Linked DNA regions of Homo sapiens: regions 2, 3, 4, 5 and 6 are each linked to region 1. Evidence: promoter capture Hi-C in 16 types of primary human blood cells and fetal thymus (Javierre and others, 2016). All regions are on one chromosome and are shown on one strand. Each heading gives the region's core, a stretch centred on a gene start or on the middle of the fragment in contact. The rest is flanking DNA. Distances are from core to core; before and after follow the strand shown.

Region 1 (3,695 bases), core at 709-3,208:
CTGCTTTTTGCAAAGAACAGACAATTCCAAACAGCCAAGCCTAACAAGTAGCTCATCTTAGCTTGTGGATTCAGAGCACTGGTGGCCTCTCCACCTCCAATTGACACCAGAAAACATATAAATACCTCTAAACATGCCTTGGGTATTTGTTTTTCTAATTGCAAATATTATACCATAACTTAGTTTGAAGGCTTTGTAAAGAATATGCCAGAAACATCTAATATTAGCCCTAAAAACTAGGGCAATCTTTTTTTTAACAGAAGAGTGTTCATATAAACATCAAAAGATGTGATGAGAGTAGTTTCAACTTCTAATCATAGAAATTATAGGGCTATTTCATGAAAGAGGTGCTTTATCAGCTCATCTTGAGTGAATGTTAAAGATGAAGATATGGCTAGTATCTCCAGAGTCTACTGTCTCAGAGAGGTAGCCCAAAGTTGTAAGACTGAGTGCCTTGAGGTAGGGAACAGGAAGCAACAGGGTCTCCAGGTTCACTGAGGAGTACTGACCTGCAATGCGATTCCTACATCAGCAAAGGTCTTCCTTCCATCGTTAGAGGACTCCTGGATTTGCTATGCCTATCCTGATGGCTTCCTACATGAGACCATCCATTCACACTTGGCCCTTACCCAGGCCTGAAATTCTCCCCAGTTGCACTCCACCCACTTATGTCTATCACTTAGCTCAAAGCCAGTAAAGCTCATCTCTGAACTAGCAAAGATTCCCTTTATCCCATCAAAATGTCCTTAACATCTATCTTGAGGTCATGCAGCATGATCTTACTTTGCTGGCATTCTTTCCTTCTTCTGTGGATTCCCAAGCAGAGTACAGATGTACAGATTCCTTGGGGGATAAGAGCTGGAATTTCAGCTTCTTTTTTTTTTTTTTTTTTTTGAGACGGAGTCTCGTCTGTTGCCAGGCTGGAGTGCGGTGGTGCAATCTCTGCTCACTGCAACCTCCGACTCCCTGGTTCAAGCTATTCTCCTGCCTCAGCCTCCCAGGCAGCTGAATTACAGGCACACACCACCACGCCCAGCTAATTTTTGTATTTTTAGTAGAGACAGGGTTTCACCATGTTGGCCAGGACGGTCTCGATCTCCTGACCTCATGATTTACCTGCCTTGGCCTCCCAAAGTGCTGGGATTACAGGCATGAGCCACCGCACCCGGCCTCACCTTCTTTTATATCCCACACAGCACCCAGCACAGAGCACAAAGCTAAGCGCATCGATCCAGCGACTGACTGACTGAATAAATGAATACATGCTATCTTGCTTGTAGAAGCCCAGATTCCTCCTTCTTACGACTCCCACACCCACTTAGGAGATTCTATTATGTCTTAAAAGAAGTTACATCTCCATTAGTGTCAAAGCAACATTATATAAGTGGCTCAACATGATCAGGCATGAATTTCTTTGTTTTCCCACTCACCTGAAAGCCCAAAAACAATCCAGGTGGTGGTAAACACTTCTGATCCTTCAAAGAAAACGGAAGAAAGCGATCCCTACCGTCTATTTTGAATCTACCGTTTTTTGTTTTTGAGTGTCTTTTAAATCTATTCAAAATCCTTTAAGGGCATTTCACCATGCATGGGAGAAGGTCATGGATCCTCAACAAATTGCAAGAGGCCTTTCACAGGCTAGACTCTGCCTTGTTCTCCAAGCTCACCTTCCATAATCCTGATGTGCTCCATATTGCCAGACTCTTTCAAGTCCTTCCCCGCCCTGCGGAGAATCCCTACTCACACCTCAGGACCAGCTCAGACATGGTCTCCAGGAGACCTTTTCTAAGATCCTATGTGAGGTAACTAGCCCCCTTGGCACCTTGTGACATAATTATTCACTTCCATGTACATGTCCCGTAGTGAACTATGAGCACCTCCAGACCTTACCCTGCGTTTGGTCGCCTTGCTCTCCTCTCTGCAGCTGGCACCCAATCTTTCCAGGCTGTCTCTAGGGACTCGAGCCCTTGGGATGGGGTCCTCAATGCTTTTCCACCTGCCTGGCTTCTAAATTCCACTAAGATCCTGTCCCATTCTCTTGGAAACACTAGAACTTACTCTGACATGCCCTATGGAAGTTATTTCTCCACTGCTGTTCAAACCCACTCCCAGACCTGGCCTTCCCTGAGGAGAGCGTCTCAGCCAAATCCAACTGCCTCTAGCTCAAGTTTCCTTGCGGGGGGCCCGCTGGCCTCATCCTGTTAGGTCGTCTTAGAGCCACAGGAGAATCAATGTTCCAGTGTCAGCAGGAAGAATCAATGTTCCAGTGTCAGCCAGCAGGGGGCAGTGTGAAAATACACACACCAGGCCCTTTTTTCAAAGGGTCTCGGCTTCCCTGAGGGTGTCTATCTGTGCCTCTATGAAGCATGGCTTGGGTCATTCCTCCAGTCCCATGGCCAGGTGGATCCTTCGTTTACCTTTCATTTCTATTAAATGAGAACATTCTCAATTCACTAACTGGATTGTTGGAAAGGCAGCAAGCTCTGCTAGATAGTTCTAAATATTTGCATCAAATATGGACCAGAAATTGTGAATCTGTCTTTCAACGCCCTCGGATCTGAGTCAGCAAGGCTGCCACGTGCAAAAGTAGGAACGTTAAATACTTGAAGCTGGGAGAGAATAAGTGGGTTTCTAATCCTCTCTGGTGCATTCAGTTCTAGAAAGTGGTTCTTTGTATTCTACTGGAACATTTCTATGTATGGTTTTTTTGTTGTTTGTTTGTTTGTTTTTTGAGACAGAGTCTCCCTCTGTTGCTCAGGCTGGAGCACAGTGGCACAATTTCAGCTCACCACAACCTCTGTCTCCCGGGTTCAAGGAATTCTCCTGCCTGAGCCTCCCGAGTAGCTGAGATTACAGGCACGTGCCACCACGCCCAGCTAATTTTTGTATTTTTGGTAGAGGCAGGGTTTCACTATGTTGGCCAGGCTGGTGTATGTATGTTTTAAACATGCTTTAAAACAAAATTTCTTTTTAGAGATGGGATCTTGCTATGTTGCCCAGGCTGGAGTGCAGTGGCTATTCACAGGTGTGATCATGGCGCACTGAAGCCTAGAACTACTAGGCTCAAGCAATCCTCCCACCCTAGCCTCCCACGTAATTGAGACTACAGGTATACACCACCATGCCCGGCCTTAAACATGCTTTTAAATGTGTCATAAATCACATTTCTCTGATGAATAAAAAGAATTATCTAATGTTGAGAAAGAGTCAGTGTTTAATCATTTACCTCACAGTGCAGATTTCTTAATAAATTCTGTTATTGAATCTACAGAATTTAACATTATGTTATTTTTGGCCCTGAAGGCATAACTTCAAGCCATTCTGGATACTGAATGTGTTGCTGACATACACATTAGCAAATCACTCAGAAGCATATACACTTTATTGCATTATCAGTAACATGAAGAAATATTTCTATATCATGAGAAAGAGCACTTTCTTCTTGATATGTGTGTAATCCCTTGGTCTTGGGAAGCTAAGGCACAGCTTACAGAGGGATTTTGTATACCCCACTCATTACGTAGCTTAAATCAGGCTGGGTAAACATGTAAACCAAATGCAAATCATCAATCTACATATGTTTAAGAAATAATATAGACATACTGCTGAAGCATGCCTCCCAGGGAGTTCTGGACTTTAAACAGCATCTTATAAATCACCAGCAAGAACAATCAATTAATATTTTGGCTGAGGGT
Region 2 (3,695 bases), core at 343-2,842, 230 kb after region 1:
ACCCAGCCATGCCCAATCCTAGAATTTGCTCTATTACTACTTCATTTTTATGGACTGCCTCCAAGGCCCCAGCCTGTCTCTAGGCAGGGTCACAAACTGCACCCTCAATTCTTTAAAAATCCACTCTCCATTTCTACAAAGTATTTTGAAAGATAGTATTTTAGAACACCTATAAAAAAACTTTTCAGCCAGGCACAGTGGCTCACACCTGTAACCCCAGCACTTTGGTAGGTCAAGGCAGGCAGGTCACTTAAGCCCAGGAGTTCGAGACCAGCCTGAGCAATAGGGTGGTCTCTACAAAACACACACACACACACACACACACACACACACACAAATTAGCCAAGTGTGGTGGTGCACACCTGTGATCCCAGCTACTCAGGAGACTGAGAGGTGGAGAATCACCTGAGCCCAGGAGGTTGAGGTTGCAGTGAGCTGTGCAACCGCACTCCAGCTTGGATGACAGAGTGAGACTCTGTCTCAAAAATAAATAAATAAATAAAAAGCAATTTTGGGCCAGGCACGGTGGTTCACACCTGTAGGGAGGCTGGGATGGGAGGATCACTTGAGGCCAGGAGTTCAAGACCAGCCTGGGCAACATAGTGAAACCTTGTCTCTACAAAAAAAAAAAAAAAAAAATTATCTCGTCGTGGTGGCACACACCTGTAGTCACAGCTACTCAGGAGGCTGAGGCAGGAGGATTCCTTGAGCCCAGGAGGTCAAGGCTGCAGTGAGCCATGACTGTGCCACTGCAGTCCTACTTGGGCAACAGAGCAACACGCCATCTCAAAACAAAAGCAAAAAAAGTGATTTGCACTCAGTTGGGATTTCTCCATTGATAACTTTTAAACTCCATATTCCCTAGCACAGGGTCTTTGATTTAAAAAAAATAAATAAATAAGTCACTTTCTGTTAAAGCCTCTTAAAAATGTACTAGCACACGGGGAGGGTGCTTCTCAAAAAGCCGGTCACATTCTGTTTCTCAAACTGGGATATGAGCAGGTACACAGATGTTTCTTTTACTATTTATTAAACGGCTATGTTTTATCCACTCTTGTACCTATGCATATGTTCCACAATAAAGGGAACCCAGAGCCTGACTCAGTGGCTGTCTTGGGAACAGCCATCCCAGCCCCAGCCATGAGCCTGGCCCTCCCTTGTGAAGAAAAACGTGCAAGGCAACCAACAGTTTAGCCAGATTTTCACTGGAAAATCCTTATGTTGAGACATCAACTTTTACCATTTGTTCTTGGGCAAGTTAGCATCAACAATCGCCAACGGCCCCAAGTTAAATAGCACACAAATGCCATCAGACTGGTACCAGTCCAGCCTTCAAGGAACCATTAATGAGTCTTTTTTTTTTTTTTAATTTTGGAAACTAAACACTGGTCTTGTGCTATTTGGGAAAAAATACTCACTTTAAATTATTAGAACGTGAATGAAGAAATTGATGTCTTTCCCTTTCTAAAACATTTTGCATGCAAGGAAAAAAAAAGTAGTAATTTATTTCTCAAAATAAAATCTCTACACATAAATCTATCTTAAGCTATGTGGGGGTTTTTGGGGGGTTTTTTGGGGTTTTTTTGTTGTTGTTGTTGTTTTAAATGAGACAGAGTCTCGCTCTATCAGCCAGGCTGGAGTGCCGTGGCGCAATCTTGGCTCACTACAACCTCCACTCCCGGGTTCAAGCGATTCTCTTGCCTCAGCCTCCCGAGCAGCTGGGATTACAGGTGCCCGCCACCATGCCTGGCTAATTTTTTGTATTTTTAGTAGAGACACGGTTTCACCATGCTGGCCAGGCTGGTCTTGAACTCGACCTTAGGTGATCCACCCGCCTCGGCTCCCAAAGTGCTGGGATTACAGGCACAAGCCACTATGCCAAGCCTTAAGCTATGTTTATCAGAAATTTGCAATGTCAGAAGGGAGGCACAAAGGTGACATCCATCAATGTCTAGTCAAGAGGAATAATGAAAAGAACATGAGAAAAGAAAACAAGAGAGACACTTTAAAAGAATGGCTTACTTTCAGTTAAGTTATAATAACAAATACAGTTCCTTGAAAAATACAGGTTGTACAATATGTGTGGTTATGATTTCACTTTTATTAAAAGGATAATTACATAGTATGCATTTGTGTACACAGAACAGGGCTGGCAAGGATACAGATCAAACTGCTTTGAAGTGGTGGGGGGACATAAGAAAAGATCGTGTGACCTTCTCAATTTACTAAACACAAGTCTGACAAGCTAGAATTATTTTTCAACATGTGTATGCTTCTTTTGCAAATCCTTTAAAAAACTATTAATTAAAAACGGCTCCATGAGGGCAAAGTGCAAATTAACAGAATGTCATTTTTAGCTACAAATCATTGGAAAATTCTGAATGGGGAAGCGAAAGTACTATGACTCCTTAAAGACATGTTTTTGGAGAGTATTTTTCTAAGCTGAGTGGCAAGATGGCTGGAAGGACTTAACTACTGCACAGAACAAGTACTGAGACCAAACCACAGAACTGGGTCAGAGGTTTTAATACTGGGAACATGCAAATACATTTTTGAGAAAGGAATCTCTGAGGAAGGAGTTAAGAAGGAATCACGATACAAACAAAAACAAGACTGAGCTATCAGTAAGCAACCTTGAACTTCTGGCAGAGCGCTCCGCTGAATGCCCCTCCCATTCGTGGGTTCCACCGCACTCTGGAAACATGAAAACTGTCCTTTGCACGCAAGGCTACGGGGCTGAGATCAAAGCCTGGGCGCTGCGGCAGGTCAGAGGAAACATCACTTGGGACACACTCATGGCCACATGACTTTCCCCCATCAAGGCCCGCTGAACTCTCAAGAATCTGTTCACAGTGCTTCTGTTGCTTCTTAATTAGGATGTGCAAAAGTACATACTACATGCTGTGGTTTCCAGACACTGACTTCATACAGAAAACATTCAACAAAAAACTGGGGAAGAAATACTACAGAATTGCCATCTGTGTATCTTACTATGTTATTTAACATCTACCACTGACTCAACATCATTTCCTTAAAAAGGGATGTTAACTCTTCAAAAGCAGGAAGGAGAGAATGCCAGGGCCAGTATCATAACAGGCCAGAACCTTTGAACAGCCAAATCATTCTATCAATTCAGTAGATGCCAAAAAGGCTGACAAAACACTTCCTCCTGATTTAAAAAGCAAAAACCAGCCAGGCGCGGTGGTTTATGCCTGTAATCCCAGCACTTTGGGAGGCTGAGGTGGGTGGATCACCTGAGGTCAGGAGTTGGTCAGCCTGACCAACATGGAGAAACTCCATCTCTACTAAAAATACAAAATTAGCCAGGCATGGTGGCGCATGCCTGTAATTCCAGCTACTCGGGAAGGCTGAGGCAGGAGAATCGCTTGAACCCAGGAGGCGGAGGTTGCGGTGAGCCGAGATCGCGCATTGCACTCCAGCCTGGGCAAGAAGAGCGAAACTCCGTCTCAAAAAATAAAAAAAATAATAATAATAAAAATAAATAAAAAGCAAAAACCAAATATCTTCAATGCAAATTAAAAGATACTTCCTGAATATGACAAATATCTTCTGAAAACAAGGGCAAACTCAAACACTACATATTCTTCATGCTTTGGCATTTTGTTTTTTAAGTTTATTTTTAACCTTATACTACCCTTATATCCTTTATCCTTATACTATCATTCCCAATGTTT
Region 3 (3,695 bases), core at 473-2,972, 180 kb after region 1:
ACCTACTTTCAATATTATTAGAAATTTCAAAATTAACCACTATGAAAAATAAATTCAAGTGAGTACAGTACAACATATTCTAAACACCCAAAGCTTGTCAATCTAGATTACATCATCTCAAAAAGATGCAGCAGCCGATAGATCTAACATGACACTAGCGACCTTGAATCTGGCTGATGCCGCAAAGCCTCTAATTTTGCTTTCACTGCCTCTTCCCACAGGATGGCTCCTGTAACTCCCCAGTGCAGGTGATGCTGCTGGATGGCTCAGCCTCCACCACTCGCCTGGCCCAGCCTGGTCTTCTTAGGGCTGCCTTCTCCAGAAGGCTAAGGCTGTGGCAGCCAGAAGCACCCCGGGGATTCCAGCTGCATCTCACCTGTCCCCCAGTAGGGCGACAAGAGGAGCCAGAAGGAGCCTTACCTCTCCCCATGCCGGCCCACAGCAGAGCTCGGGCGGGTGATGTGTCTGCCAAGGTCCACACTGAAACACTCTGCAGTGTGTGCTCCTCCCACACCCCAGGCAGGTGGTGCTGGTGACTGCTACTGTCTGCCTGGCACATATTCATGCCTGGCACTAGGTTGGGCACTTCAAACATCTTCCCTGCTAGGTGAGGTTTCTAAGAGATGTCCCTGGGGATCCTGTCCCCAGATGGATTCAAGAACAGATCCTGAGGCCACGCAGCACATTACAGCACTCCACCCAAAACGGACCGTCCTCTCCCATTCTTTCCAGGTGCTAACACATTACAGATAACAAACCCATGTCTCTAAAATGTAAATATGGAAGGGACACAAACCCAACAAGAAAAGGGCTAACATCCCAACAGGAAAATAACTAAGGAAATAAACATGCTTCTTGAACAGTAAAAAGATGCTCAACCTTACTCATAAGAAGATATACATTAAAACTATGATGAGAGGCCGGGTGCGGTGGCTCACGCCTGTAATCCCAGCACTCTGGGAGGCCAAGACGGGTGGATCACTTGAGGTCAGGAGTTCGAGACCAGCCTGGCCAACATGGTGAAACCCCATCTCCACTAAAAATACAAAAGTTAGCTGGGCATGGAGGCTCGCGCCTGTAATCCTAGCTACTTGGGAGACTGAGGCAGGAGAATTGCTTGAACCTGGGAGGCAGAGGTTGCAATGAGCCGAGAACATGACACTGCACTCCAGCCTGGGCAACAGAACGAGACTCCACCAAACTATAATGAGAAACCTCTTTCTACCTACTAATCGGGACAAGAGCCCAGTCTGACCACATATTCTGCTGCCAAGCATGCAAGAAAACAGGCATTTACACATTGCTGACGAAATTCCTCAACAGAGGGCAATTTGGTGAGTAGCCCCCTCAGCTTACCAAGGCACATCCCCTCTGACTCAAAAATCTCACTCTTGGAAATCTATCCTTCAATTACACCTGAGTGAAACAACTTATGTGCCAGGTTATTCAGGGTAGTGCTATTTGTAATAGCAAAACATTAGAAACAGTCTAGATGTCTATCTGCAGTAATTAAATAAATTATGGTGTATCTATACCATGGATCACTTTGCAGTTATAAAAAACAATGAAGATAATCCTTATACACTGACACAGGTATACAGAACATCATCTGTATATCAGAAAGTGAAAAGAGCAAGAACGGAGCTACAGACACAGATCTGTAGATACAGACACTTCCTTCTACAACAAAAACTGCTCCCCCTAAACAGAGACAGAGTAAACATCCCCCTATCCTAGGGCTATCAGTAATGACAGGCACAGATCTGGCTGGTGGTGCGGCTGGTTCTCCCTCTATTCCCTCAAAGTGCTATCAGATCCAGGGATCTTCTCTGTAATTGTTCTGTATGATGCAGTATCTTTGATCACCAGTATTACTCCGCAGGAATAAAGGGGCTAGGGAGAAGAATAGGCACAATGAAAGAATATAAATGGCCAAGGAATGCTGGCAGAAGTGTTTGGCTTCACTGAAACTCAAAATTAAAGCAATCAGATACAATAAGGTCAATATAAACTAGGCTGTTATTTATTATAGCAAAGCATTAGAAACAATCCAAAGTCCCAATGCAAGTGGAAAAGTTAGATCCATGATTTGCTATATGTCACAATTACAAGTTCTGTTTCTAATAACATTGAGATGCCACGATATGATACAAAGTTAAAGTCTTCATAAAGCAGATTGTGTGTTGATGAGAATTTTATAAAAGAACACTCAAATACTTGTCTTAAATCTCTGGAAAGAAATACATCAAGGCTGGGCACAGTGGCTCATGCCTGTAATCTCAGCACTTTGGGAGACCAATCACTTGAGCTCAGAAATTCGAGACCAGCCTAGGCAACATGGCAAAACCCCATTCCTACTAAAAACAACAATAACAACTAGCTGGGCGTGGTGGTGCATGCCTGTAGTCCCAGCTACCCAAGAGGCTGAAGTGGGAGGATCACTTGAGCCCAGGAGGTCAAGGCTGCAGGAAGCTATGATCATGTCACTGCACTCCAGCCTGGGTGACAGAGTGAGACCCTGTCTCAAACAACAATCACAACCAAAAAAAAAAAAAAAAGAAATACACCCAAAATATCAGTAAAATATTTTCTGTTACTACCAAAATAACAGAAAGTGGTGTTTTTCTGGCTAGTGAGATTTTAAATTATTTGTTTTCCTCATTTTACCATTCTGCATTTTCTGCAGTGAACTTATTTCTCTTGTAAATGAAGAAAGTTACACAAATAATGAAAAAGGGACAGAAAATACACATATGAGAACTACAAAAAAGAGGCAGAAGAACATATCAGCATTCTTGCTTCTTCCATTTCACCCCAACAATGTAGTTTGTACCGTAAAACCTAGGGAGAACTATGGATGCTTAAAAACATCCATTTTAAGGGCAATTTAAGAGGGTGGGGAATGTGACAACTGAGTGATTACTGCCTCGAAACCTCCAATATCATATCTTCCTCCTCAAGTACTTTATCAAATCCTAGCAAGAATGAACTTTTTCTCCAATAGAATTATGGGCTTAGATTATGGTAAAGAAATCAATCTGAAATATTTTATCTCTAATCATTAAAACTAAGAAGCCTGCCTACCTAGCTTAGGCAAATAAAAGTTAGTGGGGGTGGGGATTAGGAATTTAGAAGTGGGGATTCACCTAGAAGAAAGGAAATCTGAAGTAGTCCTGGAAGTGCAAAAGGCACAGGCAGGAATAGCAATCAGGGGTCAGAAGAGACCAAGGCTGTGGGGCAGGGAGATCACACAGAGGTTGTCACGATGATCCCAGGAAGAACTGATGCTGACCCACAGAAAGCGGAGACAGCAGGATGAAGGCAGGGGGATCACATGGGGTAGGAAAGGAAGGAAGCTTGTCAACTACTTCTGATGCATTCCTGTCACAGCATTTAGCAAGAGCAGAACAAACAAGAGGTCCTCTAAGGCCTTTTCCATGACCAAGATTCCATAAACCTGACCTCACAGAAATTAAGAGGTGAGAGGCCGGGCACAGTGGCTCACGCCTTTATCCCAGCACTTTGGGAGGCCGAGGCAGGAGGATCACTTGAGGTCAGAAGTTTGAGACCATCCTGGCCAACATGGTAAAATCCAGTCTCTACCAAAAAATACGAAAATTAGCTGGGCATGGTCGTGCATGCCTGTAGTCCCAGCTAGCTACTTGGGAGGCTGAGGCACAAGAACTGCTTGAACC
Region 4 (3,695 bases), core at 761-3,260, 160 kb before region 1:
ATCTAAGCTCTGCTTCTGGGGAACCACAGTCTAAAATTTAGTTACAAATAGCAAGTGTTTTTAAGGAAAATTATGAGGTGTTAAGATAGCTTCTGCAATGGACTTGATCTTGTCTGGGGAATCAGTGAAGGATTCTCCAAGAAAATAACATTGAGGCCAGGTGCAGTGGCTCACGCCTGTAATTCCAGCACTTTGGGAGGCCGAGGCGGGCAGATCACCTGAAGTCAGGAGTTCAAGATGCACCTGGCCACCATGGTGAAACCCCATCTCTACTAAAAATATGAAAATTAGCAGGGTGTGGTGGTGGGCACCTGTAATCCCAGCTACTCGGGAGGCTAAGGCATGAGAATCGCTTGAACTCAGGAGGCGGAGGTTGCAGTGAGCCAAGATCGTGCCACTGAACTCCAGCCTGGGGGACAGAGCGAGACTCTGTCTCCAAACAAAAAGAAAAGAAAAGAATATTGAAACAGATATTTGGATAATAAGATGATACGCACTGGCAGTAGAGGGATGAGGAGGACATTCCAGATGGGGAAATCAGTATTTTCAAAACCTTTGGGTTAGAAAGGATGCTGGAACATTTGAGAGACTGTAAGAAAGTCAGTGTCACATGCATCCAAACACAGAAGGGAAGGTAGGTGGGAGGGGAGGTGGAGAAAGGCCAATCCATGTAGGCATTGGCGCAGGAACATGACTAAGGCTTTGTTCTAAGAGCAATGAGAAACCTCTGAGGCATTTAGACAAGTGAATTGATGTGATTAGGGTTGGTTTTCAAAGGTCACTTCTGCTGCTTTGTGGAGAACCTATTGGGAAGAAGTGATGCTGGATGTAGGGATGATGATTACGGAGCTAGCACAGTGATCCAGGCAAGAGATGAAGGAGCTGAGCTGGGTGGTTGCTTAGAGATGGGGAAAAGTGGACAGATTTAAGAGATGGAAGAGGTTGATGGAACTTGGTGATGGCTTGACTATGAATCAGATGGGAAGGGATGGTAATTAATTGAACATCTCAACCAAAAATGATGAAGTTCCCTTAAAGCTTCCATCCTTAGGCTAGGCAGGGTGGAAAAACAAGAAGTAATAGACACAGTCTGACATTCAGAGAGGTAATGATTCAGTCATAAAGGTAGAATGCATGAAATATCTGAAAACCTGCTGCTGGCTTCACGAAAGTGTGTTCTGGGTGGATAGAACATGAAATAGGAGATCCTCCCAGTCAGAGATACGAGTATTCCACCTAATGCTCTGTGATGATGATGACGGTGATGATGCCGATGATGACAATAACAATGACAATAATGATACAAAAGTTAATGTTCACCAAATGGTTTCGATATGACAGGTGTGGTGCTAGTGAAGAATGTGGACTCCATCCTTAGGGAACAGGGAAATGTGTCGTGTGTTAAGAAATATGGCCATCATCCTTAGCAAACTAATACAGGAACAGAAAATCAAATATTGCATGTTCTCCCTTATAAGTTTGGGAGCTAAATGATGGGAACACATGGAGACATAGAGGGAAACAACACACACTGGGGCCTATCGGAGGGCGGTGGGTGGAGGGTAGAAGGAGGAAGAAGATCAAGAAAAATCAGTAATGGGTACTAGGGCTTAATACCTGTGGGATGAGATAATCTGTACAAAACAACCCCATGACACAAGTTTACCTATGTAACAAACCTGCATTTGTACTCCTTACCTTAAAATAAAAGTTAATTTTTTTTTTTTGAGACAGAGTCTGGCTCTGTTGCCCAGGCTGGAGTGCAGCAGCCTGATCTTGGCTCACTGCAACCTCCACCTAACGGGTTCAAGAGATTCTCCTGCCTCAGCCTCCCGAGTAGCTGGGATTACAGGTGCCCGCTGCCATGCCCAGCTGATTTTTGTATTTTTACTAGAGATGAAGTTTCACCATGTTGGCCGGGCTGGTCTCAAACTCCTGACCTCAAGAGATCCACCTGCCTTGGCCTCTCAAAGTGCTGGGATTACAGGCGTGAGCCACCATGCCTGGCCAAAAAATTTTAATTTAATTCAAAAAAAGAAATTAGTGATTTGATCAGATTTGCACTCTGGGTTTCTATGTAGACAAGAGATCAGAGGGTCCAAGTTAAAAAACAAAGAGGAGTAGACCAGTTGAGAGGCTGCTGCAATCATTCAGATATAGGATGGAGCTCTGTAGCAGATGTGGTCAGTAACCTGCTCATGCCCACCGGCTCTCACTGTTGCTGTATATACCCAGGGCATCTCACTGTCTGAGGGCTTTCTCTGACTGTTGAACCATGCTAGGGTTATGTGCGGGGCAGACCAGAAGTCTTAAGGAGTTAATAGCCCCAGGCATGACCCTCAACAAGAGAGGGGCAGAGATGATAAATACTCCAGGTTCCTCATCTCTCAGGTGGGCACCACCAAGTTCCCAGCATGACTGAGCCTCAGCTGCCCACTAATCTGCTCCTTAGTCATCCTGTAGGGCTGCCTTCCCTTCCCTGTCTCACTTCCCCACTCCCCCACCAGAAACTTCTAAGATCATCTCCCAAATAAACTACTTATACTCAGATTCTTATCTCAGGGTTTGCTTATAGGAGATCCCAACCTAAGATAAGTCCTTGACCAGGTGGCAGTGGGGCTACAGAGAAGCCTCCAATGTAAGACATATCAGAGGTTGGTGATGTTTCTTATGGGAAGCCATGAGACAGCTGGGACTATGGTTTCTTGTACTTTCAACCAGCGAAGGGGCCACCCAAGATCCACAAGAGATCTAGGTTGATGGACACTCAAGGAAAATGAGCCTGGTTTGTTACCAAGACACCCTAGTCCCAAATTCCATTGTGGAGTCCCCAGCCCTTGTAAATTAGGCTAGATCATAGCAGCCACAGGAACTCATCTTGTTTCTTTACTCAAACACACACACTAAAGGCATAGTGGTTGTTGTAGTAGTTATTTAGTTCTGAGTAACATATTACTGCAAACTTAGTGGCTTAAAACAACAGTAAGCTTTATTATTTTCACAGTTTCTGTGACTCAGAATTCTGAAGCAACTTAGATGGGTGGTTCTGTCTCAGGGTATTTTATGAGGTTACATCAGATTTCAGCTGGGGCTGACTCATCTGAAGGCTCAACTGGAGGGTCCATTTCCAAGGTGGCTCACTCACTGGATGGCAAGTTGGTGCTGACTCTTGCTGGAGAGCCTCAGCCCCTCTCTATGTGGACTCCTCCCAGGGATACTTGAGTGCCCTTACGACATGGCAGCTGGCTTACCTCCGAATGAGTGATGAGAGAGAGCTAGGTTGAAACTATCCTTTTGATGACCTAGCCACAGGAGTCACATAGCAGCATTTCCATCACATTCCATAGTTAGAGGCCAGTCACTAAAACAAGCTCACTTTCAAGGGAAAGATAATTAGTTTACGCCTTTTGAAGGGAAGATTGTCAAAGAATTTGGGGGCATACTTTAAGATCACCACAGTTGCCTAATTGATCCATTTCCCTAGATTCTCACCCTAATCTTGAACGTGATGATCTTTCCAATCCTATGACAAGAAAGAAGCTGGAAGCCGAGGCAGGGGGATTGCTCGAGCCTGGGAGCTCGAGGCTGCAGTGAACTATGATGGCATGACTGCACTCCAGCCTGGGTGACAGAGCAAGATCCCATGTTAAAAGAAGAAGTGGAGAAGGAAGGAAGGAAGGAAGGAAGGAAGGAAG
Region 5 (3,695 bases), core at 689-3,188, 160 kb after region 1:
GCCCTCTGTGACCAAAAGTATTTACCCCAAGTTCCCCCAGGCCCTCCCTTCTGTGTCCCATTAGCAACTTTGCCCATCAGGCTCAGCTGCTGGCCAGGCCTGGCCTCCTTGGCATGAGCTGGGGCAGAGCTGCACACGGTACACACTTCACTGCAATAAACACAGCTTTCATCCCCTATTCAGGTCAACCAATAATGCTCAGCTAGAGACACTGACCAAATTCACAGAGGGATTATGCCTACAAATCCACGGATAAGTCAGCGGTTTAGAAAAAGAACATCTCCCCAGAGAACCAGTGCTCCATGGGCAAGGTAAGGATCCTGAGTGAGCCAAAAAAAGCTCTGCCGTGCACTCTGGACTTGAAGCACAGAGCCCTGAACACTGTACCCAAAGAATGAAAGAGGGTGCTAGTCAGGTTGAGCCCTTCTTGGAAGGCCCAGACCACATCTCCTTCCCCTAGTCGGTCAGTGATATCCCTGCCCTGCCCCCTGGGGGGTTTGAGGAGACCCTCCTCCCTTCAGCCCAGCTTGGTGGTTGTGGGCAGACTAGCAAGGGCTGGGATCTGGGAACCATCAGAGCTTGCCAGCCCCAAAGCCTTTAGTCCACATAGCTTCTTTCCATCAGCAGACCTGCAGCCTACCCTCCCAGGGTGTGGCCTATCCTGGCAACCAGAACACCTGCACATGGCTCACCGCCCTCCAAGGCTCCCCTATCCCCGTGCCGCGTTAGGGCAACCCTGAGGTCCCGAAGGATTCTGACTCATCAGAATGCAGTCCCTGACTTCAGCTCACACCCACCTCCCACCGCAGGGAGGGCCAGGCCTTACTCAGCCTGTCTCTGACAGAGCAAGAGACAGCTGGCCGTGAACTTAGGACAGTCCTGCCAGAGCAGGCTCCACTTCCTGAGCAGTGCCCTGGGGTAAAGCAAGAGGCTGCACTGCGAAGAGGGGAGAGGAGCAGGAAAGGAGAGGAAAAGACAAGCTTGCAGGAGGAGGTAGGAAGGTAGATAAGGATGTTTCTCTTCCTTCCTGTGCCAGCTCCACGTCCATTTAAGCTGGTGGCTGGAAATGCAGAAGTGAACAAGCCAAAGCCCTGGCATCAAGGAGGAAGCACCGTGGGAAAAAGACATAGAAACAAAAAGGACAAACTGGAATAAAGGCCACACTGGAAGGATGAAAACAAGGTGGGAATTCAGAGAACAATGAAGGGCTCCACAGAGTCGGGAGGGCAGGACAAGCTGGGCCTGGAGGATGAGCTGTTGTGTGCCAGGCGGGTTGAGGGAAGACACACAAGAAGGTAGACAGCGGGCCCTTGGGAGTGAGGCCAGGGAAGGCAGGAGACAGGGCTCAGAGGCATGGCTGGAGATGGAAGTGGGGCAGAGAGCAAGGGCAAGCCTAAATGCTGGGTGCAGCCTGGTGTGTAAAAAGGGAGGAGAGCTGCAGTGTGGCTCACCCTGAGGAGGGTGTGGAAGTAGAAAGATGGCACTGGGTGTGGGGCACAAAGTGAGTCCAAGAGCAGTGCCCTGGAGGCAGGGAAGCCAACGGGGAGCCTGGTGGGACACTCTGGTCTGAACGTAAGGAATAGGGGCACAGAGGGGTGCTGGGGAGCGAGCATGACTTGCCAAGGGGGCAGGGGAAGGAGAGTGAGGCTGAGTTTCCAGCTTGGACAACTGGGTAGGGGAAGGTGGCGGTGGTGCCATTCACCAAGAGAGGAAATGACTGGGAGGAACACTGAGGGGTGGGGACCAACGGCCACTAGGACATTCCCGTGCCTCCATTCTGTCCTTGCCAACAGCCCTAGGCAAACGGCGCAGCTCAATGCCTTCTGCGCTCAATGCCTTCTGGGGGCTTTGGCATCCCCCATTAGTACCCCAATCTCACCTGCATCCAAACGTTGTCTGTAGCAAAGTAGTGATTCCCACACAGAAGAAAATGGTCCCAATGAGCTGGCTGGTGGCCCACTGGTCGTACCCCACACACATGGCATCGGCCAACAGGAAGGGCACTGCGATCGTGCCGCTGAAGCATGTCAGGTAGTGCTGTGGGCAGGAAAAGGGTCAGAGGAGAAACAGTAAACCCTTCCTCATTTATTCTTGATTTCATCCTAATTCTTCTCTCTTATTGTCGTTAAAAAATAGCCCACATAAAGAATCTCCTTGGTTTTTCGACCAAGCCATACTTTTTTCCTTCTTTTTCAGTATTTCTCCTTTGTTGTTAAGACAGTTTCACTCCCATTGCCCTCGACGGAGTGCAATGGTGCGATCTTGGCTCACTGTGACCTCCACCTCCCAGGCTCAAGCAATTCTCCTGCTTCAACCTCCCAAATAGCTGGGATTACAGGGGCGCACCACCACGCCCAGCTTATTTTTGTATTTTTTGTAGCGATGGGTTTTCACCGTGTTGGCAAAGCTGGTGTCAAACACCTGGGCTCAAGCGATCCGCCTGCCTCTCCCTCTCCAAAGTGCTGGGATTACAGGCGTGAGCCACCACGCCCAGCTGCATTTCTCCTTTTCATTACATTTTATTGTCTTACTATTCACTGTCATTATTACTTATTACTTGGATGAATCCATGCCTCACAAAGGAAACAGTCAATATCAGCACTGGTGATATTTTACTTATGTAATTCTTATTAGAAATATTTGGGTTTCTTCCCCAAAATGCTTTTCTGGCATAAATTGCTAAAACCATAAGGCCTTTCTCCTCTAATCTGTTATCATGAATTGTGATGTGCTGAACTATTCTTGCATGCTTGAAACAAACCCTAGTTAGTCATACTGTATTTTTCTTCTGGGATTTGATTTGCTAATATTTTATACAGAATTTTGCATCTACATTTCTAGGTTAATTAGTCTATTTCTTTAAAAAAGTTCTTTCATGTCTGGGGATTAAAGTTACATAAGCTTCATAAGTTACATACGCATGGAGTGTTTTCTGTCTTTTTCTGTGAGCTGGCATTGTTTTCGAAAACAAAGAATTCGTCTGTTCCAGTCAGGGCAGGGTTAAGGGCGTACAGTAGCCATGGGAATCTTCCAGAAAGAACCCCATCCCACTTTCCTTTGGGAGTCCCCCCAACCCCCCGCCACACCTGTAGCCCTGGTAGGATAGTCCCAGCACTCACGACTCACTTCCCTCCCTTCCCCTGTTGACCAGTTCTTATTTCTGTTCTGCAAACTTCCTACTTTTCTTCCAGCAGCTTCCCATTCCTGCCCACGTTAGCCAAACATGCCACATGCAGCCCATGAAGCCCGACTGTAAAGGAGTTTCCTGGGGTGAAATACTCCTGTTCAGGATGTCTCAGGGCTGCTCACAACTTTATGTACTCTGAATCGTCAGGAAGGGCATGATGCAGGCAGGGTTTCCCACTCCTATCTGACCAGGGAAGACTGCTGGGAACATTTATAAGATAAACATTCCAAAAAGTGTCCTTCCTGAATCTGGTTCAGAATGCTCAGCCCAAGGTAGACTAGTTGCCGAGGCCACTCAGCTCCTTTTGCTCTGACTCCTCCCCTACTCAACAGACACCTGCCAGTCGGGGTTACCATGGGCTGTGATACCTGAAACGGGGTGAGGGAAGGGCGGGGCAACTGGAAACTCAACCAAAGTACCCAGCTGTTGGCAGCCCCACCCCAGGGTGAATCAACCTCTCTGGACAATGAGATGGATTTTCTCGGCACCTGAGATACCTTAGGTTGAA
Region 6 (3,695 bases), core at 896-3,395, 130 kb after region 1:
CAGCTCCAGGTTAATTTGGAATGGATTTTCCTCATTCAGAGGCCTTCCTCACCAAGGAACATTTTGCTTTTTCTCAATTATCTTTTATACTGTTATCTTGTTATTGTTGTAGCATTCTGGTTTCAAGAATTCTGGTTGTAGCATTCAAGTTTAGTGTCTTGATTTTGAAGGGGGATTCTTATTTTGATCCTTTTTCCTTCAGATATATATCTATATATCTATATCTATATTTTTTTTTCTTAAAGACCTTGTTGGCTTCCAGCCTTCTCTCTTGAATCTGTTATTTCATATCTCCTTTTACCAAGAAACTTTCATTTAGTTTGTTACTTGACAGCAGGGTTTTTCAACCTCAGCACTGTTGACATTTTGCACCAGAAATCTGTATTATATTAACAATCAGTCCAGACCATGCCTAGTGTACTAAAGACTGAAAAGCACTGCTCAGGTATTCAAAAGCCCCTCTCTGGCTTGAGACAAAGCACTGGAGAGTACTACATATGTATACAGTAGTACGACTATATCCCTGGAGGTGGCTTTCTAGCTATGGAGCTCTGGTACCCCACCAGCCCTCGGCAGGCCAGGAGCCCTACGTGCTCGCTCACGGCCAGCACAACCTCAGGCGCTCTGTCTACTAAGTTTCGCCTTCTCGTGTGTGGCCCCATGGGTCCTAGTGAACTCCCTCTGGCCCCAGCACCTGTACAGCTGCCTCTCCTGGACAGCCCAGCTTGTGCCCCTACTGGCGCCCACCTTGGGAGTTGCCTGCACAAGCAGAAGACCACCTTGTATACGCTGTGGGGGCTTCTACCTACCTGCCACCCCCGCCTCGCCCTCACCCTGACTGCCTCACCAACTAATTGTAATTTCATTTTATCTCAGACTACAGGTATGTTTATGAACCATGCACATTCTTTCTTGGAAAAAGAATAGGTCTGTATAAATGCACACTTAGACCATACAATCTGATGAGAAAGTTATTTTAGAAAGATGAAACTTTTTTTTTTGAGACAGTCTTGCTCTGTCTCCCAGGCTGAAGTGCAGTGGCGCAATCTCGACTCACTGCAACCTCCGCCTCCCAGATCCAAGCGATTCTCCTGCCTCAGCCTCCCGAGTAGCTGGAATTACAGACACCCGTCATCAGGCCTGGCTCATTTTTGTATTTTTGTAGAGATGGGGTTTCACCATGTTGGCCAGGCTGGTCTTGAACTCCTGACCTCGGGTGATCCTCCTGCCTCGGCCTCCCCAAAGTGCTGGGGTTACAGGCATGTCCCGCCGCGCCCGGCCTGAAAGACGAAACTTTTTAAAGCTTTCCTAAGTGTATTGAGAACAAAAAGAACAGCCAACACTCATCATTCAACATGCTCAGAGCAGTCATCTTTAACCCAACCTTAAAATTCTTGGCTTCTCTCTTTTTCTCCTTGTCATTATAAAAAATGAAAATAAGATGGTTACACAGGGAAAGAAGTGGGCTGAACCTGACTAAGCTCAGGCTCCAATTCTAATAAAAACCCAGACGCCGGGACTAGAGTCTTCACAATGGAACCAAGTGTGTAACAACCACTGGGATCACCTACACGGGGCCAGCTGCGAGTCCAGGTGACACCCCAGCTAGGGAATGTATTCACACCCCCAACAGTTACACAACACTCAAATTAAGATGCAGCTTTTGGCCATTAGTGACTATCAACTTACCTCTACAGCTGTGGCCAAATTTAAAAGATTATGGCTGCCCATTAAGAGATTATATAAATTCCATCATGCTTGAGCAGGTTGCTTGCTAATCCCCAGGCTGTTCCCACTCACATCTTTCCACTTTGGCAGCTCTGGGACCAAGCAGCTCTATACTTGCCTATCTAAGCAGCTGCCCTCAAATCCTGGCCACCAGAGCTTAAACCTGGCAAGAGACCCCTTGTCCAGGATTTCATCCTAGCAGATCCAAAAGAGACAGCTCGCTAATGTGAGAAGGGAGCCGGTCAGTCTCTGTGTGTTGGTTTCTGCCCTCTGGGGACAGGGCCTCCCTTACTTGCTGTCTAATCCTCTCCTGACCAGAATGGCAAGGCCTTCAGGAGACAGTCTGGGACAAAGACGGCTGTTCTGCCAAATTCCCACCCCTCTCAGTTGGGCCCTCGTGGGCTCTTGACCCCTCTAGCCATCAGAATACTTACATGGGTATGGAACCTTAAACCACGGGGCTACCAGAAGCACGCCTTGCCTGGCATCTGTGCGAGCATAGAAGCCATACTTTGTGCTGTCGGGAGGGAAGACATCTGTCACCGTGAAGATGAAGCAGAGCAGCCAGGATACCAGGATGGCCAGGATGATCTGGAGTGGTCAAGGGGAAGCTCTGTCAGGCCAGCAGGGCTCACAGGTGTTGGCAAAAAACACGTCTTCCCGCGGTCGGAATATCACACCCCAGAGCCCACCACAGTCAGTACTTTGCAGACCTTCCTTGAATGGACTCTCACTGAGAGAGCAGTTTCATTCAGGTGAACTTATCTTACCCATTCCAAAGTCTGGCTGGTAAAACAAGAATGGACATCGTGCCTGCAGAGGCCACGTGGAGTCAAATCTTACTCAGTCCCAAGGACAGTGTCCCCTTCCTTCGGCACTGCTAAAAGGATGTGCTCCCATTTCAGAATCAGAATGTTTAAGTCTATGATGATCTGAGTGGTCATTAGTAGCCTGGTCTCACTGCACAGATATGATCCCCCAAGGAGGGCCTGCTTAAAACCCTCCCTTCACTTAATCATCTTACATATTAACCAAGGGCAAAAATGTCAGCAGGGGAAGAAGTCAGCTACTCACAGGGAACATTTTGAACAGCTGTAACTTGTACGCAGTCCATCCTTTCTTGGATTTATAAATCGGGAGAGGAAATTTAACATTTCTGGCGTATTGAGAAAACAGTAATACTAGGAATATTGTCCTGAGGAGAGAAAGAAAACAAACTAGGTCAAAAGCTGTTATGTCTCTGTTATAAAATAACACTCGAAGCTTCTATGGCAAAATTGACATAGTGTTCAATTCATTTACCTAGAAAGCTGCTAGTCCTCTGAACTACCATTTGAGAAATAGTATATCTATTGGAATGTACATCTTTTGGAAATACTACTGTGGGGGAAGATGTTACAACTAATTTGCCTAGCATTTCTTGATACTGAAATGAAATTCTGATGTAAATGCCTTAGGACAGCTTTTCCTAAATAGAATAAGAAAACCCAAAGAATGTACACATTGATGGGAAACGCTTACTCTATGTAAAGGGAAAGGATGCCAGATACAACATAAACTGTAAGATTATAACTATGAATTAACTACAAAGCAAACCAAGAAACTACTGCACGTACACACAAACAGGTAAGAAGGACATGATCCAAAATTCTCCCAGGGATTCGCTTTGAGTAGTTACATGATTTGCAACTGGTTTTCCCACTTTTCTGTATTTTCCAATCTACTTACAGCACGCATAAATTACTTTTAAAAGAGCAAAAAGTAAGCTTCACTGCTCAAGAAAAGTAGATACAGTAGAATTCAGTATTAATAACATTCCTGGGAGGCTTCTGTGTGCCAGACATTACACTAATGTCTTCCTGTGCAGCATCTCAACCTTACGGGGTGGCTTCTAAGATGGTCTCCTTTTCACAGAGACAAAGCCAGAGGTCCAAGATCACACGGCTAGGGTTGTAGCACTGGGGACC

What was found. Contacts are between HindIII fragments. The CHiCAGO score rates a contact against its expected background, and 5 or more counts as called.
Region 2: a contact is called between a fragment that was not itself captured here and the fragment with the promoter of PRNT in region 1, in 4 of 17 cell types (total B cells, megakaryocytes, naive CD4 T cells and 1 more). The highest score is 7.3, in total B cells.
Region 3: a fragment that was not itself captured here is called in contact with the fragment with the promoter of PRNT in region 1 in 2 of 17 cell types (megakaryocytes and naive CD4 T cells); the score reaches 6.4 in megakaryocytes.
Region 4: a contact is called between a fragment that was not itself captured here and the fragment with the promoter of PRNT in region 1, in 2 of 17 cell types (activated CD4 T cells and M1 macrophages). The highest score is 5.6, in activated CD4 T cells.
Region 5: a contact is called between a fragment that was not itself captured here and the fragment with the promoter of PRNT in region 1, in 3 of 17 cell types (megakaryocytes, M1 macrophages and M0 macrophages). The highest score is 7.1, in megakaryocytes.
Region 6: a contact is called between a fragment that was not itself captured here and the fragment with the promoter of PRNT in region 1, in 1 of 17 cell types (M0 macrophages). The highest score is 5.1, in M0 macrophages.

What each region holds. Positions count from the first base shown.
Region 1 is chr20:4,738,710-4,742,404 of GRCh38, forward strand. It overlaps PRNT (prion locus lncRNA, testis expressed), which reads right to left and starts at 1,959. Exons shown (of 2, transcript NR_024269.1): 1 at 1,891-1,959. The HindIII fragment of the contact is 12,166 bases long and covers 1-3,695 here.
Region 2 is chr20:4,970,999-4,974,693 of GRCh38, forward strand. The region is part of intron 1 of SLC23A2 (solute carrier family 23 member 2); the gene reads right to left. Among named protein-coding and RNA genes, the nearest start is that of SLC23A2, 29 kb to the right of the region's middle. RefSeq lists enhancers at 2,124-3,323, 2,579-2,888 and a silencer at 2,311-2,511. The HindIII fragment of the contact is 5,275 bases long and covers 1-3,695 here.
Region 3 is chr20:4,919,061-4,922,755 of GRCh38, forward strand. All of the region lies in intron 3 of SLC23A2 (solute carrier family 23 member 2), which reads right to left. Among named protein-coding and RNA genes, the nearest start is that of SLC23A2, 81 kb to the right of the region's middle. The HindIII fragment of the contact is 3,263 bases long and covers 92-3,354 here.
Region 4 is chr20:4,582,268-4,585,962 of GRCh38, forward strand. No RefSeq gene overlaps it. Among named protein-coding and RNA genes, the nearest start is that of PRNP, 100 kb to the right of the region's middle. The HindIII fragment of the contact is 1,949 bases long and covers 1,037-2,985 here.
Region 5 is chr20:4,897,676-4,901,370 of GRCh38, forward strand. It overlaps SLC23A2 (solute carrier family 23 member 2), which reads right to left. Exons shown (of 17, transcript NM_005116.6): 6 at 1,880-2,037. Among named protein-coding and RNA genes, the nearest start is that of RASSF2, 76 kb to the left of the region's middle. The HindIII fragment of the contact is 1,921 bases long and covers 979-2,899 here.
Region 6 is chr20:4,871,774-4,875,468 of GRCh38, forward strand. SLC23A2 (solute carrier family 23 member 2) reads right to left here. Exons shown (of 17, transcript NM_005116.6): 10 at 2,803-2,923; 11 at 2,163-2,319. Among named protein-coding and RNA genes, the nearest start is that of RASSF2, 50 kb to the left of the region's middle. The HindIII fragment of the contact is 1,688 bases long and covers 1,302-2,989 here.